Linked DNA regions of Homo sapiens: regions 1 and 3 are each linked to region 2. Evidence: promoter capture Hi-C in human tissues and cell types (Jung and others, 2019). All regions are on one chromosome and are shown on one strand. The core of a region is centred on a gene start or on the middle of the fragment in contact, and the rest is flanking DNA. Distances in the headings are between cores, read along the strand shown.

What was found. The method cuts DNA at HindIII sites, captures the fragments that hold promoters and counts their contacts. A contact is called where the count stands out against the background at its distance.
Region 1: a contact is called between the fragment with the promoter of CCDC62 here and a fragment that was not itself captured in region 2, in 1 of the 25 tissues and cell types used here (spleen).
Region 3: a contact is called between the fragment with the promoter of EIF2B1 here and a fragment that was not itself captured in region 2, in 1 of the 25 tissues and cell types used here (spleen).

Annotation. Positions count from the first base shown.
Region 1 is chr12:122,772,852-122,776,548 of GRCh38, forward strand. It overlaps CCDC62 (coiled-coil domain containing 62), which reads left to right and starts at 1,721. Exons shown (of 13, transcript NM_201435.5): 1 at 1,721-1,855. The coding sequence starts at 1,820. RefSeq lists silencers at 1,559-1,768, 2,291-2,585 and enhancers at 1,868-2,561, 1,949-2,088. The HindIII fragment of the contact is 10,219 bases long and covers 1-3,697 here.
Region 2 is chr12:123,172,232-123,175,511 of GRCh38, forward strand. All of the region lies in intron 16 of MPHOSPH9 (M-phase phosphoprotein 9), which reads right to left. Among named protein-coding and RNA genes, the nearest start is that of PITPNM2, 23 kb to the left of the region's middle. RefSeq lists a silencer at 938-1,138. The HindIII fragment of the contact is 6,614 bases long and covers 1-3,280 here.
Region 3 is chr12:123,631,665-123,635,131 of GRCh38, forward strand. It overlaps EIF2B1 (eukaryotic translation initiation factor 2B subunit alpha), which reads right to left and starts at 2,022. Exons shown (of 9, transcript NM_001414.4): 1 at 1,881-2,022; 2 at 681-782. The coding sequence starts at 1,893. GTF2H3 (general transcription factor IIH subunit 3) reads left to right here and starts at 2,165. Exons shown (of 13, transcript NM_001516.5): 1 at 2,165-2,208. The coding sequence starts at 2,196. RefSeq lists an enhancer at 2,049-2,238. The HindIII fragment of the contact is 12,225 bases long and covers 1-3,467 here.

The DNA.
Region 1 (3,697 bases), core at 471-2,970, 400 kb before region 2:
GGGACTATGGGTGCGCACCACCACACGTGGCTAGTTTTTGTTTGTTTGTTTGTTTGTTTGATTTTTAGTAGAGACAGGGTTTCGTTGTATTGGCTAGGCTGGTCTCAAACTTCTAATCTCATGATCCATCCTCCTCGGCCTCTCAAAGTGCTGGGATTACAGGCGTGAGCCACCACGTCTGGCCTGATTTTTGTTTTTTTGAGTCAAGGTCTCACTCTCGATCGGACTGGAATGCAGTGGCATGATCACAGCTCATTGGAGCCGCCATCTCCCAGCTCAAGTCAGCCTCGTGAGTAGCTGAGACCACAGGAGTGCACCACCACGCCCAGTTTAAAAAAAAATTTATTTTTTGGCCAGGTGCGGTAGCTCACACCTGTAATCCCAGCACTTTGGGAGGCTGAAGTGGGTGGGTCAACTGAGGTCAGGAGTTCGCGACCAGCCTGGCCAAGGTAGTGAAACCCATCTCTACTAAAAATACAACAAAGGTGGCGTGGTGGCGGGCACCTGTAATCCCAGCTACTCGGGAGGCTGAGGCAGGAGATTTGCTTGAGGCCAGAGGCAGAGTTTGCAGTGAGCCGAGATTGTGCCATTGCACTCCAGCTCAGGCAACAAGAGCCAGACTCCATCTCAAAAAAAAAAAAAAAAAAAGTTTTTTAGAGGTGGGTGTCACCATGTTGCTCAGGCTGGTCTCAAACTCCTGAACGCAACAGATCCTCCTACATTGGCCTCCCAAAGTGCTGGGGTTACAGGCCACTGCGCCCAGCTTTCTTGATTTTAAATTCTAAGACATTGCTTTGGTCTCCCAAACATGAGCCTATCAGTAAAGCTTCAAAATAAGAAATCTTAATTTTGTTTTTCCATTTTCAGATTGTATTTTTTGAACACAAGGGCATGTTTTGGCATTTCATATTCAACCAAAAAGTAAAGTTGAAACCCTGTAAGACCGACCGTATTTAGTAATTGTGTTGCTGTCTGATGGGTTAAGCATTCAGGGATGGGCAGCCGGGGCTGAAGTGTGATAAGCCTTATTTTTTCCTAGTCCCGTTCCCACATCTTAGGAAGAGTGAAAGGGGGATGAAGAGGTGACTATGGAAGAACAGGTGAAAAAGCTTAGATTCAACCCAGAATATCGTAGATTTTGTCATGACAAAGTACCGTGGTTCTCCTCATTGCTTTTCAGGAGCTCCCAAGAGTAAATTTCCCCCTCTTCATCTGTGATTCTTGGTTTAAAGTATCAAAGGTGCTAGGGTAGCCCGCAACTGTTATCCCCGAGGGCTGGGCTCTGCCTCCACGCATTCGAGTGTCAGGTCCTGTTCTGGGAGCCAGCTACACAGGAGCGAGCACGGCCGAGCTCACGGTTATTAGGGGGAAGATGGAAGATAGGGAAGTGAGCAACTCAAATGTCATAAACCAGAGTGCTGGGGGCGGCGCAGCAGCCTTTATTGACTTCTTCATTCTCTGGGTAGTGGTGAACAGCCGGTTCTTTCAGGCCTTCCAGCGCCGGAGCCTCGGGCGTGGGCAAAAAGCGTCCATACGCAGCCTGAGCCACTTGGGAGCCCCCAGTTTCCGAGGCAGAAGAACAGTGCCCACCAGCGCAGCGGGGCTGCGGCCCGGAAACCCTGGCGGGGAGCCCCGAGCCCCGGCGGGCGCACGCCGCGTGGGCACCAGGCAGGCGGTTGGAGTACGGGGCGGGGGTCGGCCGAGGGCGCGGGGCCCCGGGGCTCCGGGCTCGCCCCCGCCGCTCGGGGCAGGCGCGCCGATGGCGTTTCTGAGGTGACGCCGCCCACACCGGGCTTCTCCGGGGGCGGAGGAAACACCTATGAACCCTCCGGCAGCCTTCCTTGCCGGGCGCCAGGTAAGCAGCGGTTCCGGGCGCGGCGGGGCGCCGCGGGAACGGTGCACATTGGTCGAAATCTATTGCTTCTCAAGAACGGTGTCTACTTAAAATGTGAAACAGGCCGGGCGCGGTGGCTCACGCCTGTAATCCCAGCGCTTTGGGAGGCGGAGGCGGGCGGATCACGAGGTCAGGAGATCGAGACCATCCTGGCTAACACAGTGAAACCCCGTCTCTACTAAAAATAAAAAAAAAAAAATTAGCCGGGCGTGGCGGCGGGCGCCTGTAATCCCAGCTACTCGGGAGGCTGAGGCAGGAGAATGGCGTGAACCCGGGAGGCAGAGCTTGCAGTGAGCCGAGATCGCGCCACTGCACTCCAGCCTGGGCGACAGAGCGAGACTCCGTCTCAAAAAAAAAAAAAAAAAAAAAAAGTGAAACAATACACTAGAGGAAAACGGCGTCACGACCGTTTCCTTAACCCAATAACACCTTGTTATTCAGCCCGGGCCACAGAGTAGCGCGTACCCGGTGCTTACTGTTTAAGGAGGACGATTGGCGTCTGGGGAGCTGCTTTCCCATTTACCTCTCAGGGTGTCCTTAATTTACACAACCTGGCGAGTAGAGGAAGGAGCTCTCACAACTCCACTGTACCAAAAAGTCTGGAAGTGGGCTTGCCCAAGGTTCGCGTCCATCAGTGTAAGACGACCTGCCTTTGTGTACTCGGCTTACTGCCTGTTTTCCTGGAGTGGAATATGTGCTCCTTGCCTGGAGGTCTGTGGCCCAGCCACTGGCGCTCAATAAATTATTTGTTGAGTGCATGAATGAAGGGCTAACCCAACACTGGAATTCAAGCCTTGGGACTTGAAATCCCTTGACTCCAAATTCCATTTTCCTTGTTAAGACTAGCAACTGTAATTTATTCATCATTCTTATTTATTTATTTTTGAGACAGGGTCTGGCTCTGTCCCCAGGGCTGGAGTACAGTGACGCAATGTCGGCTTACTGCAGCCTCTGCTTCCCGAGTTCAAGCAATCCTCCCGCCTCAGCCTCCCAAATAGCTGGGACTACAGGCTCCCACCACCATGCCGAGCTAATTTTTGTGTTTTTAGTAGAGACAGGGTTTCGCCATGTTGGCCAGGCTGGTCTCGAACTCCCGACCTCAGGTGATCTGCCCACCTCGGCCTTCCAAAGTGCTGGGATTACAGGCGTGAGCCACTGAGCCCAACCTCATTATTCTTGTTTATTTACAAATCTTACTTTTCAAAAAGCAGTAAGGAGGTACAAAGGGCCTCTGTTGAACCTTTAATTACTGTCTTTAAGGTGGAACTCTATTAAAGTAACACTTTTAGTTGTTTATTTCATAGGCAGGGACAGCACCATGATTTGAAATGTGGTTTACAGTGTTAATGAGAGCTGATGTTTGTTGAGTGATTACAACGGGCCAGGCTTTGTGCTCAGTACTTTACAGAGTTTGTCTTGTTTAATCTTCACCACTCCAAGATGTTAAAATGCAGTTGCTATCGTTTTACAGGTGAGGAAACTAATGCTTAGAGAAGTTAAGTAACTTGCCCAAGGTTATGTAGCCACTAAGTGGCTAATTCTGGGATCACAATTTGGTCAGGCCAACTTGTTAGATTTTAAAATGCTGTATACTTCAAAGAAATTATTGTATTAATAGATAATATTGTTAGATATAAAAATGGCATCATGGTTATATAGGAAATGTTCATTTTTAGAGATGCATTCTGAAGTATGTAAGGGTGAAATGGTATTTTTTAACCAATAATGAAAAGAAAAGGACATTGAAGCAGCCGCAGTGAAATCTCAATAATGGTAGAACCCAGGCACAGAGTATATGGGAGT
Region 2 (3,280 bases), core at 298-2,797:
CTGTTGCACAAAAGCTGCCGTAGATGCTATGTAAGTGAATAAGCTTGTATTCCATGAAAATTGTATTTGTGGACACTAAAATTTGAATGTTATACAATTTTCTTTCTTTTTTTTTTTTTGAGACAGAGTCTCACTTTCTCACCCAGGCTGGAATGCAGTGGTGTAATCTTGGCTCACTGGAACCTCCGCCTTCCAGGTTCAAGCGATTCTCCTGCCTCAGCCTCCTGAGTAACTGGGACTACAGGCACATGCCACCATACCCAGCTAATTTTTGTATTTTTAATAGAGATGGGGTTTTGCCATGTTGGCCAGGCTGGTCTCGAACTCCTGACCTCAGGTGATCCACCTGCCTTGGCCTCCCAAAGTGCTGGGATTACAGGTGTGGGCCACCACGCCCAGTCCGTCATACAATTTTCATGTGTCATGAAATATTCTTTTTTCCCAAACATGTAAGAATGTAGAAACCATTCTTTACTCAGGGGCCTCACAAAAACAGGTAGTTCATGCCACATGTGGCCCCACAGGCTGGGGTCTGCCAACTCGGTCTCTGCCACCTGCATTGTCATGATGCAGTGTCATGCTTGAGTGTATGACAGTATTTTCCATATTCCAGCTGTTAGACTTTCAGGTTTTCATTCACTTTTTTTTTTTTTTTTTTTTTTTTTTTTGAGACAGAGCGGTGCTCTGTCACCCAGGCTGGAGTGCAGTGGTGCGATCTTGGCTCACTGCAACCTCCGCCTCCCAGGTTGAAGTGATTCCTCAGCCTCCCGAGTAGCTGGGATTACAGGCCTGCACCACTATGCCTGGCTTATTTTTGTATTTTTAGTAGAGATGGAGTTTCGCCATGTTGGCCAGGCTGGTCTCAAACTCCTGACCTCAAGTGATCCACCTGCCTTGGCCTCCCAAAGTGCTGGGATTAAAGGCGTGAGCCACCACGCCCAGCCTGCATTCACTCGAGTACCCTCTGAATGGGCTTCTACTGTTATCACTCTATCCAGACTGTTCACTAAGCATTAGCCTCCAGCTTGCAAAGACCTTGCAGTCTTCACCTTGATCTCTCAAGCAGCAATGTGAGATTATGACATATATTATACATCAGTTTTCATTCACAATTCCTGGCTCATAACTTTCATATCCCTTGTTGCAGTCAACAGAATCTCTAACCTTCTCCTGTCTTCCTTTTACCTTACCAGGGTAGGACTCTAATCTGATTATGGGTCATAAGACTCTTGTTCGAATCAGAGAGGGTCCTGCCTCATCCTCTGGGGGAAGGAATGCTGCACAAAGAGGCCAAGAAGGATCTGAACAGAAAGGCCTTGCTGGGTTTAGATCACATCCTTTCTGTCCAATCACATTTCAACACAGTCGTCCAAGCTTCAATCAGGCCTGTCCAATGAAACCTCCATAAAATGCCCAAAAGGACAGGGCTCCAGAGCTTCTGGAGAGCTGAACAAGAGCTCATCCACGCACTGAGGGGGCATCACACCCCAGCTCTACTGGGAAAGAAACTCCTGTGCTGGAGATCCTTCCAGACCTTACTCTGTATCTCTTCAACTGGTTGTTTATTTGTATCCTTTAAAATATCATCTGTAATAAGTTGGTAAACATGATTCTCTGAGTTCTATAAGCCACTCTGGCAAATTAATCAAACCCAAAGAGAGGGCTGTGGGAACCTCAACTTGAAGCCAGTTGGTTAGACGTTTTGGAGGCCTGGACTTGCAAATGGTGTCTGAAATGGGAAGTCTTGGGGACTGAGCCCTCAGCTTATGGGATCTGACCCTATCTCTGGGTAGATAGTATCAGAGATGAATGGGAGGCCACCCAGCTAGGTCCCATGAAGAACTGATTGCTCGCTTGCTGGTGAGGAGAAATGTCACACATTCTGGGTCACAAAAGTCTTCTGAGTCTATTTTTGTTGTGCTGGTGTGAGAGCACAGGGAAACACAAGTTGGGTTTTGCACTCAATACCGGTGGCTGCTTGTTTTCCTCTAGCTTTTTGGCAGCGCTTTCTCGGGTTCCTTTGCCAGCTCTCTCTATCCAACACCAGTGTCAGAGTTCTTGCCCCAGGCCTACTTCTCACTAAACACACTCAGTTTACATCCATTCTACAACTTTACGCACCATCTAGAAAGAGACGACTCCAATTTTTTTTTTTTTTTGAGACGGAGTCTTGCTCAGTTGCCCAGGCTGGAATGCAGTGGCGCGATCTTGGCTCCCTGCAAGCTCCGCCTCCCGGGTTCACGCCATTCTCCTGCCTCAGTCTCCTGAGTAGCTGGGACTACAGGCGCCCGCCACCACACCCGGCTAATTTTTTGTATTTTTAGTAGAGATGGGGTTTCACCATGTTAGCCAGGATGGTCTCGATCTCCTGACCTCGTGATCCGCCCATCTCGGCCTCCCAAAGTGCTGGGATTACAGGCGTGAGCCACCGCACCCGGCATGACTCCAAAATTTATCATACCATCCTAAAACCTTATTTTTGAGCTCCAAACTCATTTATAATTGCCTATTTGATTTCCACTTAGAATCGATATGAATCTCAAACAAAAATATTCAAGATGGAAATTCTGATCTCTTCCCTAAGTTCAACACATGAACTAGGTACCTTTAGTTGTTTGAGAGAGAAACCAAGGAATTATTCCAACACCTCCCTTTCTTACCTTGCCATCCAATTCACAACCATATCCTATAGATCCTACCTCTAGAATCTCTCCCGAAGAGTCTCTATTGTCTATTTCTGTGACCACCACCTAGCTAACACCACCTCTCTCCTAGCACTGCACCAGACTAACTAGTCTCCTGCTTCCATTCTTTCCTTCTCCATCTTCTCATGGCAGGTACATTAATAAAAATTAGATAACATCATTTTACCACATAAAAACCTTCAAAGGCTTCCCAATGGACTTAGGGCAAGATCTAACTTTTTTTTTTTTTTCTGAGACGGAGTCTTGCTCTGTCTCCCAGGCTGGAGTGCAGTGGCGCAATCTCGACTCACTGCAAGCTCCGCCTCCCGGGTTCACACCATTCTCCTGCCTCAGCCTCCGGAGTAGCTGGGACTACAGGCGCCAGCCACCGCGCCCGGCTAATTTTTTTTGTATTTTTTAGTAGAGACAGGGTTTCATCGTGTTAGCCAGGATGGTCTCGATCTCCTGACCTTGTGATCCGCCCGCCTCGGCCTCCCAAACTGCTGGGATTACAGGCGTGAGCCACGGCGCCCAGCCAAGATCCAACTCTTGATCACGGCTTAGAAAGCTATAAATGGTCAATCTCTGATTTCATC
Region 3 (3,467 bases), core at 772-3,271, 460 kb after region 2:
AGGCATGGTGGCGGGCGCCTGTAGTCCCAGCTACCTGGAGGCTGAGGCAGGAGAATGGCATGAACCTGGGAAGCGGAGCCTGCAGTGAGCCAAGATGGCACCACTGCACTCCAGCCCGGGTGACAGAGCGAGACTCCGTCTCAAAAAAAAAAAAAAAAATTTTGCCAGGCGTGGTGGTGCATGCCTGTAATCCCAGCTACTCAGAAGGCTGAGGCAGGAGAATCGCTTGAACTTGAGAGGCAGAGGTTGCAGTGAGCCGAGATTGTGCCATTGCACTCCAGCCTGGGAGACAAGAGCAAAACTCTGTCTCAAAAAAAACAAACGGCCGGGCACAGTGGCTCACACCTGTAATCCTAGCACTTTGGGAGGCCAAAGCGGGCAGATTGCCTAAGCTCAGGAGTTCGAGACCAGCCTGGGTAACATGGTGAAACCCTGTCTCTAAAATACAAAAAAATTAGCCGGACAAGGTGGTGCACACCTATAATCCCAGCTACTCAGGAGGCCAAGGCAGGAGAATTGCTTGAACCCAGGAGGCGGAGGTTGCAGTGAGCCAAGATCTCGCCACTGCACTCCAGCCTGGGTGACAGAGTGAGGCTCCGTCTCTTTAAAAAAAAAAAAAAAGAAAAGAAAAAAAAGACTATCCTAAGTCCCAGAGTGTTAACAGATGACTCTCTATATACCTTTATCTCTCTTCAAGAACTCCAGCAACGTCCGGATGGCAGCCACTGCTGAGGCCATGTCAGGATCTTCTTTCATCTGAGACTTAAAGTATTCAATTAACTCTGGAAAAAGGGAAAAAAGTGATTCACCTAATTCATTTAGCAGCCTATAAGGCAAGAGAGCTTGTTAATGACTGTTGACTTTAAGAAGCAAACAATTTAAAAAATACTTTCTTTTTAGGGTATTTGGTTTCAGGGATGCAATAAATGTTGATGGGAATAGAGAAAATACCACTTTGCTGTTTGCAAGAGCTCTTTTTTATTTTGAAAAAGCTACTGGTGGCCGGGCGCGGTGGCTCACGCCTGTAATCCCAGCACTTTGGGAGTCCGAGGCGGGCGGATCACGAGGTCAGGAGATCGAGACCATCCCGGCTAAAACGGTGAAACCCCGTCTCTACTAAAAATACAAAAAATTAGCCGGGCGTAGTGGCGGGCGCCTGTAGTCCCAGCTACTTGGGAGGCTGAGGCAGGAGAATGGCGTGAACCCGGGAGGCGGAGCTTGCAGTGAGCCGAGACTGCGCCACTGCACTCCAGCCTGGGTGACAGAGCGAGACTCCGTCTCAAAAAAAAAAAAAAAAAAGCTACTGGTGTGCAAGGCCTAAAAATTAAGCCCGAGTAAATGATGATGAAAAGTCATTCTCTCTTCAGCCTCTTTGGTCCTAAAATCTGAGAGGATCCCAGAGTCAACCATCTTGCCAATTTCTCCTGCACCCCTCCAGACAGTCTATGCTAATACATGTCTATTCACATACACATATATGTTACAAATATTATACATGGAGTTCCACCCACTCCCCTTTATTTCTTTACATGAAAAGTGTATTAGTTTGCCCTTGTTTTTCACTTAATAACCATACTAGATGAGCACATCAAATATGCCTTATTCATTCTAATTTTAATGACAGATCCAACAAGGCAGGAAGGAGACTGGCACTGGGAAGGAGCGTATGTGTGGGAGGGATGCCTGCAGATACTGCCAGGGCGCATCCCTGAAAACAAGAGCAGCGCGAGGGATTTAGTTGTGACTCTGGAAACACAACCAGCGGAGCAGCCTGAAATTCAAAAGAAATCTCTTCGGGAGCTCAGCCTGGATGTGAGAGGTTGGGGGGACCCCTGAACGGCGCTGCTGTAGCCTAGCAGCCCTGGCCTGTCTTGATTTACCCTTGTCGTCCATGGCGTCCTCCTGCTGCGGAGCCCCAGGGGACCCGAGCCGCCCGCGCTGTCTCGAACGGGTCCGCCGGCCGCGCCGCCTGCGAGCCAGTCTGACAGCGCGCTGCACACCTCCGCACCCCACTTCCGGCGCACTTCCGTACCCCTCTTCCGGCGCACTCCCCGCACTCCACTTCCGCAGATTAGGGGGCTGGCACGAGTCACAGCACCTCGTGCGTCACTTGGCGGCGCCGGACGTTGGGCTGCGCAGGATTTGAGACGCTCCCCTGACCACCACTTGCTCTGCGCTGAGGTGCTGGGACAGCCATGGTTTCAGACGGTGAGGACCCTGCAGGGCGGGACTTCGACTCCGGGGCTCGGCTGTCTCGGTCCGGCTACGACTGGCCAGATGGAATGTGTCTTTTGGGCTGGATAGAATCCGTTTGGTCTTTAGAGGAGTAGCCAAGGCATTCAGTCATTCATTCAGTAAATAGTTTTGGATCGCCTCCTGTGTACAGGCATTATTTTCTGGATTTTAGCAGAGATCGTGACAGACAGGGGCCTTAGTGGAGGTTACAGTCTACTGGGTGAAACAGATGACAATAAATAAAAATAATTTCGGCCGGGTCGCACCCCGGTGGATTAGGCCTGTAATCCCAGCACTTTGGGAGGCCGAGGAGGGAGAATCGCTTGAAGCCGGGAGTTCGAGACCTGCCTGGGCAACACAGCCAGACCCCATCTCTACAAAAAAAATGAAATATTAGCCGGGCGTGGTAGCGCGTGTCTGTGGTCCCAGCTACGCGGGAGGCTGAGGCGGGAGAATCACTTGAGCCCAGGAATTCGAGGCTTCAGTGAGCTATTATGGCAGTACTGCACCCAGCATGGCCGACAGGGCATGACCTCGTCAATAAAAAATTAAAAAATAAATTATTTTTCAAAGGATGAAAAGAGCTATGAAGATGATGTAACAGTACGGTCCTAGTTACAATAGTACATTGTGACTAGGATTGAGGAGGAGCTGTTTTAGATAGGGGCCTAGGAAAAGTGCAGGATATTGAAACCGACTTGAATGATTATGTGAAGTTCTGGGGGAAGTGCACTTTAAGTGCATGGGCCCTGTGGCAGATTGAGCCACCAAGTTACACTGAGAAGGGAGAAATGGAGAGCTTGCGGGTAGAGGATGGTGGGGAGACTCATTCATACATTAAACTACCACATACAGAGTCAGATGTCTTGAAGATTTAAAAGGAGGCTAGAGGGATGAGATCAGAGAACCAGCCAGTTTCAGGTCATGCAGGGCCTTATTGGCCGTGATAGAGAAGTTGGCCTTTATTTTTAGGTGCAATACAAAGACATTGTAGAGTTTTAAGCCAGAAAGTGTTATGATCTGGTTTGCAATTTTAAAAGATCACTGTGGCTGTTGTGTGGAAAATGGACTGTGGGGAGCAAGAATAGAGATAGGGGAGTCCTTTCAGGAACTGTAATAATTGTCCATCCTCTCTTAATTGATGTGAAACCATACCACAACCCTGTGAGGGAGGCAGGCCTGGCATTGCTCCTGTCTACAAATGAGGTAGCGAACTAAAGAAGGAAATTCAC